Linked DNA regions of Homo sapiens: region 1 is linked to region 2. The links are contacts of gene promoters, found by promoter capture Hi-C in human tissues and cell types (Jung and others, 2019). All regions are on one chromosome and are shown on one strand. Each heading gives the region's core, a stretch centred on a gene start or on the middle of the fragment in contact. The rest is flanking DNA. Distances are from core to core; before and after follow the strand shown. Region 1 has its middle 4.7 kb from the start of CLIC6. Region 2 holds the start of KCNE1 (potassium voltage-gated channel subfamily E regulatory subunit 1).

What was found. The method cuts DNA at HindIII sites, captures the fragments that hold promoters and counts their contacts. A contact is called where the count stands out against the background at its distance.
Region 1: a contact is called between a fragment that was not itself captured here and the fragment with the promoter of KCNE1 in region 2, in 7 of the 25 tissues and cell types used here (dorsolateral prefrontal cortex, heart left ventricle, liver and 4 more).

What each region holds. Positions count from the first base shown.
Region 1 is chr21:34,662,730-34,665,886 of GRCh38, forward strand. No RefSeq gene overlaps it. Among named protein-coding and RNA genes, the nearest start is that of CLIC6, 4.7 kb to the right of the region's middle. The HindIII fragment of the contact is 6,731 bases long and covers 1-3,157 here.
Region 2 is chr21:34,510,706-34,513,617 of GRCh38, forward strand. It overlaps KCNE1 (potassium voltage-gated channel subfamily E regulatory subunit 1), which reads right to left and starts at 1,505. Exons shown (of 4, transcript NM_000219.6): 1 at 1,322-1,505; 2 at 396-610. The HindIII fragment of the contact is 8,709 bases long and covers 1-2,912 here.

The DNA of each region.
Region 1 (3,157 bases), core at 288-2,787, 150 kb after region 2:
AAGGACATGAATAGACATTTCTCAAAAGAAGACATACAAATGACCAACAGGTATATGAAAAAATGCTCAACGTCATTAATCCTCAGGAAAATGCATATCAAAATGACAATGAGATACCATCTTACTCCAGTTAAAATGGCTATTACTAAAAGACAAAAAAATCAGATGCTGATAAAGATGTGGTGAAAAGGGCACTGTTGGTGAGAGTGTAAATTAGTACAGCCACTATGGAAAACAGAATGGAGATTACCAAAAAACTAATAATAGAACTACTATATGATCCAGCAATCTCACTAAATGGTTATTTATCCAAAGGAAAAGAAATCAGTATAAAAAAGGGATGCCTGCACCCCCATGTTTATGGTGGCACTATTTACAGTAGCCAAGATATGGAATCAACCTGTGTCCATCAACAGAGGAATGGATAAGGCAAGTGTGGTATATATATATACACACAATGGAATATTATGTGGCTATAAAAAGAATGAAATTATGTCATTTGCAGCAACACAAATGGAACTGAAGGTCACTATGAAGGTCATTATGTTAAGGTCAAAATGTTGTATGTTCTCACTCCTATGTGGGAGCTAAAATGGTTGGTCTCATGGAGGTAGAGAGTAGAATGATAGATACCAGAGGCTGCAAAGGGAGTGTGGGTGAGTAGGACGATGAAGAGAAGTAGGCTAATGGGTACAAACATACAGTTAGATAGAAGGAATAAGCTTTAATGTGTGGTAGCACAGTAGGGTGACTATAGTTAAGTTAACAACAATATATTGTCTATTTCAAAATAACAAAGAGAGAGGACCTGAACTGGTCCCAACACATAGAAATGATAAATACTTTAGGTAATGGATACCTTAAATACCCTGACTTGATCATTACACATTCTACGCATGTAATAAAATATCACATGTACTGCATAAATAATGTACAAATATGTATCAGTGAAACAACTGACAATGACAAGGTTCCTTTTATAACCCTCACTGTTCCAGATGAAAAACTGAATCAAGATCATATAGTTATTACGAGATAGGGCAGGGATTTAAATCAGACCATTTAATCCAAGAACCACCCATTTCACCATGATTGTCATGTGTGTCAGTTCCATGTAATGTTCTTACTGACCTGCAAGATGATGTGTACGTGCTTCAGGATCTACTGACTAGCAGGCTTTGAAATCCCTGCCTCCTAGTACAACCTATTCTGCAGTGACACTCTTCTTTTAACTGAAATGTACCTTACCAAGTAACTGAAGAAAGCCAGCCAGATTAAGAAGCGGGTTTGGGGCCACTTGTAGGTAAGTGAGTGCAACTGTTTGAGGAGAATTCCAGGCAAGGAGAAACTTTACTCAGCTCTAAGTGTATCCTGTGATCTAAATGTTACAGATACATTATAATCCCACGGGCTCTTCTGAAAGGAGCAGATACCTGCTAGAGAAAGAGCAGATTTCTATGGAGATGAGGCCATTCCTTCTGGAAAAGCAACAAAAGCAACAAACCCTTACATTGTTTATAAGCCCTTAAGGTTTTCTTGTAATCCGAGTTTACCTGCTTCATGATTCCTTATAATATATGGCAGAAGGACTGTATAATTATTAAAAGTTACTTAAATATCAACGCTTTCATTTCTTGTCATCCACCTCTGAATCTGTCACCTCTGTTTAACCCTCCCTGGTATTTAAATAGCTAATCTAGTGTTGGAGGCCAGGTTAACAACGTGCACGTCTCTAAGTGACTTCATAGCGACCTTCACACGTCTATTTATTTGGTATTTCCTTTGTGTTCCTTTATATGAACTGACTGAGCCCTTGCTAATAATTAAAAGAATTTGCTAAAGTATTCTTTTGGCAAAGTCAGTAGATAAGAATTTCTGTAAGTGGCTCATGCCTGTAATCCCAGCACTTTGGGAGGCCGAGGCGGGTGGATCACGAGGTCAGGAGATCGAGACCATCCTGGCTAACACGGTGAAACCCTGTCTCTACTAAAAATACAAAAAATTAGCCGGGCGTGGTGGAGGGCACCTGTAGTCCCAGCTACTCGGGAGGCTGAGGCAGGAGAATGGCATGAACCCAGGAGACGGAGCTTGCAGTGAGCCGAGATAGCACCACTGCCGTCTGGCCTGGGCAAAAGAGTGAGACTCCGTCTCAAAAAAAAAAAAAAGAATTTCTGTGAATAGTGTGTCTTGTGACATTAGCTTGCCCACCAAAGTATAAAACTAACTGAGAAAAGTATTTTCCAAAACTAGTTCAGGTTGGTGCATATGTATTTGAAGGCACGTGTGTATTCACTCATTCAGGAAATATTTATGGAGCTCTACTATGTGCCTGGTCTATCCTAGGCAATGACAAGCAAAAACCCCTGCTTTCACAGAATCACCATCCTAGTGGGGTGAGGTAGGGCAGACAGATAACAACTAGAATATATTATGTGTCAGATGAAGATAACTGCTATGGGGGAAAATAAGGCAGAGAAGGATGCCAGAGAGTAGGGGTTGTGTTTTAAAATGGAATGCTTGGGGCGGGCATGGTGGCTCATGCCTGTAATCCAAGTACTTTGGGAGGCCAAAGCAGGCGGATCACGAGGTCAAGAGATCGAGTCCATCCTGGCCAACATGGTGAAACCCCATCACTACTAAAAAAAATACAAAAATTAGCTGGATGTGGTGCCATGCGCCTGTAGTCCCAGATACTCGGGAGGCTGAGGCAGGAGGATCACTTGAACCTGGGAGCTGGAGGCTTCAGTGAGCCGAGATCACACCACTGCACTCTAGCCATTTTATAAAAGTAAAATGGAGTGCTTGGGGAAAATAATTAATCAGAGACTGCAGCAAGGTAAGGGAGTAAGCCATGAGAATATAGGGGGCATCCCAGGCAGAGGCCCAGCAAGTTCTAGGGACGGCAAGCAGGCTGGTGTTTTAGGGGCTGCAGAAGTCTAGTAAGCCAGAAAGAGACTGGGATTGCCTGATTTTATAGGACCTTATACTTCATGCATAAAGACTTGACTTTTTCTTACTGTGAGACAGAAAACCTTTGAAAGATTTTGAGCATAAAAGTGGCATGGTCTGATTCATGATTTCCAAAGAGGATCAGCTGGCTGTGGAGTGGAGAGCAGACTGTCGAAGGCCAGGAACTAGTTAGGAGGTGGTGGCAATA
Region 2 (2,912 bases), core at 255-2,754:
CAGGAGGGGGCGCTGCTGCCCTGGCTGGTGTGCAGCCACCAGAGGCTGAAGCTCACTGACGTCTGTCTGGGGCCCAGGATCACCTTCCTTGATTCCAGCTCTCTCAGGCTGTCAGGACCTGGCGCTGGGAGGCACTAGGCCATGCCCTGGCCTGAGGCCTTCTCTCTCCCTCTTTGCCCTGTGTCTCTGCAGGGAAGCCCGGCCCTGCCCCTGGGAGGGTGGGGGCAGACGTGTGGAGAGTGGGTGTACAAGGCCAGGGTTTGCCAGGCCCAGGACAGCCTGGCACCTGTCAATGGATGAGCGCCTCTCCCTTAGCCTGATGTCAGGGTGGGCATGAGGGTGGGAGCAGAGGGTGCCTAACTGAGGAAAGGGTCTGTGCAACCCCCTTCTCCTACCAGTTCTCGTTTCTGAAGTCTCCTCAAGCACACTGCGGTGTCCACACCATTGGCAGCAGGCTCCTTCTCTTCAGGTGGTCTTAGGAACTTCTCAGAACTTTTTGAGTTATCCTTCTGGTCTCTTCCTCCTGAGCACGGTTCTCCTGGTTGAGCTCCAGGCCATGCCATTCAACGCCCTCCAGGACAGGCCGAAGGGCTTGTCTGTTTGGTGGTTGCTAAGGTTTGAAAAAAGCCAGCTGGAAACTTAATCCCCAAAGCAACAGTGTTGGGAGGTGGGACCTAATGGGAGGTGTTTAGTCATGAGGGCTCCACCCTTATGAATGGATTCTCTCTCTCTTGTTCTCTCTCTCTCTCTTCCCGCCCCGCCCACCCCTCCTTCCCCAACCTTGTGATACCTTCCACCATGTCATGGCAAGAAGGCCCTTGCCAGATGTGGCCCCTCCATCCTGGGTTCCCAGTCTCCAGAACCATGAGCCAAATGCATTTCTGTCTGTTACAAATTATGTACGGTGTGGTTTTCTGTGATGAACACAGTGCTGTACCAGGGCCCTCTTGCCAAGACAGCCAGCTTATAGGAGCCTGCATGTGAGGCCCGGACGTCCTACAGAGCAGCAGTTAGAGGTCTGGCCTTCTGGATAGGCACTGCCCTGCCCTGCACACAGGACCTTGGTGGGGCATGATGGGGCTCTTCACCACGCTGCCCTCATTTTAGGAGGTGGGCAACCCTTTCTCCCCCTTCTCCATGTGCTTCTGCAGTTGGAAGAAGTGAGGGGGGTTCAGACACACTTAAGCTGAGCTTAGAGCAAAGCATGTCCCTCAAGGTGACCTTGCCGCATGGCCTGAACCTAGAATTCCCCTGACCAGGGTGGACAGCCATCACCATGGGCCTTTCTGCCTGGCCTAGTATGGCTCTCCTTCGAACTCACCTAGACCCTTGCATCAAAGGACTCGGGGACTCTGCTGCAGTCATCCTAGCACGGTCGAGAGGAGTAGGAAGGTGCCCAGCGGCTCAGCCTTTAAGGAGGTCTATTGGTCACCATTGCTTCTGCCTTCTTGAGAACCATCACCCTCGGAGGATCCGGTAGTGTATCCCAGTCAAGTGTCAAATGCGTTGTTCCCTGGAGAGGAAGGCTTATTTCCAGAAAGTACTCTGACGTTTTGTAATTTGTGATTTCTATCACTGGCTCAGTGGCCTACCCACTGCTCAGCTCATGTGGCATGACCAGGCTGGGGCGTCGGGTCATCTTGTTCTCTGGGTGTGTGGCAACACTGGTTTATGGCGTAATTTCCTTCCTGAGAAGAAATTCAGTAATTTCTAATATTCAGGGCTTTAGGTAGAGGCCTGAAAATCACTCTCCATGCCTCTTTCAGTATTTTATATATAGTTGTCTCTTGGTATCCATGGGGTTTGGTTCCAGAATCCCCTGCAGATACCAAAATTTGCGAATGTTCAAGTCCTTTATATATAGTGGCATAGTATTTGCATATAACCTATGCATATCAGCCAATCATAGATGGTGATTTAAATCATCTCTTGATTACTTCTAACACCTAATACTATGTAAATGCTTTGTAAGTAGTTGTTACCTGGCATTTTTTTATTTGTTTTATTTTTGTTGTTGTTTCATTAATTTTATTTTATTTTTGGAATATTTTCAGTCCATTGTTGGTTGAATCCACAGATGCAGAAGCCTTAGACACAGAGGGCCGACCACACCTATGTATGCTGTTCTTAAAGTAGCAACATATTTGTTCTGAACATAGAAGAAATTAGTCGTCTATTAGACTTTAAGGGAGTAAATATGGTCCAAGTTGATTTTTAAATTTAGCAAATAGTCATAGACATATCAGTGTCTTACAGAAAATATTTATTGGAATGCTCACTCTCTCATTTGGGATACTGCTTTGCCTTGCTGTGTCTTAAGAATGTCATCAGAGCATCACACACTTGAAAAACGTTTTTAAAAGGATATGATGATAATTAAGACCTTCTCCCCAACCCCTGCCCATTATCCAAGATCAATGTTTTTTTCCTTTATCCTGATTTTAAAATCAAGTACACTTTATTGAGGCATACTTTACATGAAGCAAAATGTACCCTTTCTAAATATGATAAGTTTGATGAGTTTTCAACAGATGTATACAGCTGTTACCATGACTGTGTCTTTACCCAGGTTCTTGCATTGCTCAATCCAGATACAGAATGTCTCCATCACCCTGACAAGTTCCTTTGTGCCGCACCCTCTAGCCAATCATCTGTTTTGAGGAGAGTTTTAAAACAAAGGTTTTTGTTCTTTTTCACTGATGACCATAACCTACCACAGACAGGGTCTCTCTCTCTCTCTCTCTCTCTTTTTCCCTGTTCTTGCGCCAGCTGCCTGACAATTTGTGGGATTAAAGCTCTAAGCTGCTTACTGGCTCTTCTGACTAGGGAGAGGGAGCAAGCCTCATTATTTTTCTATTCTTTTCAGTGACTGCTCACTCCTCTTCCTCCAAAATCCCTATCCATCCATCCAT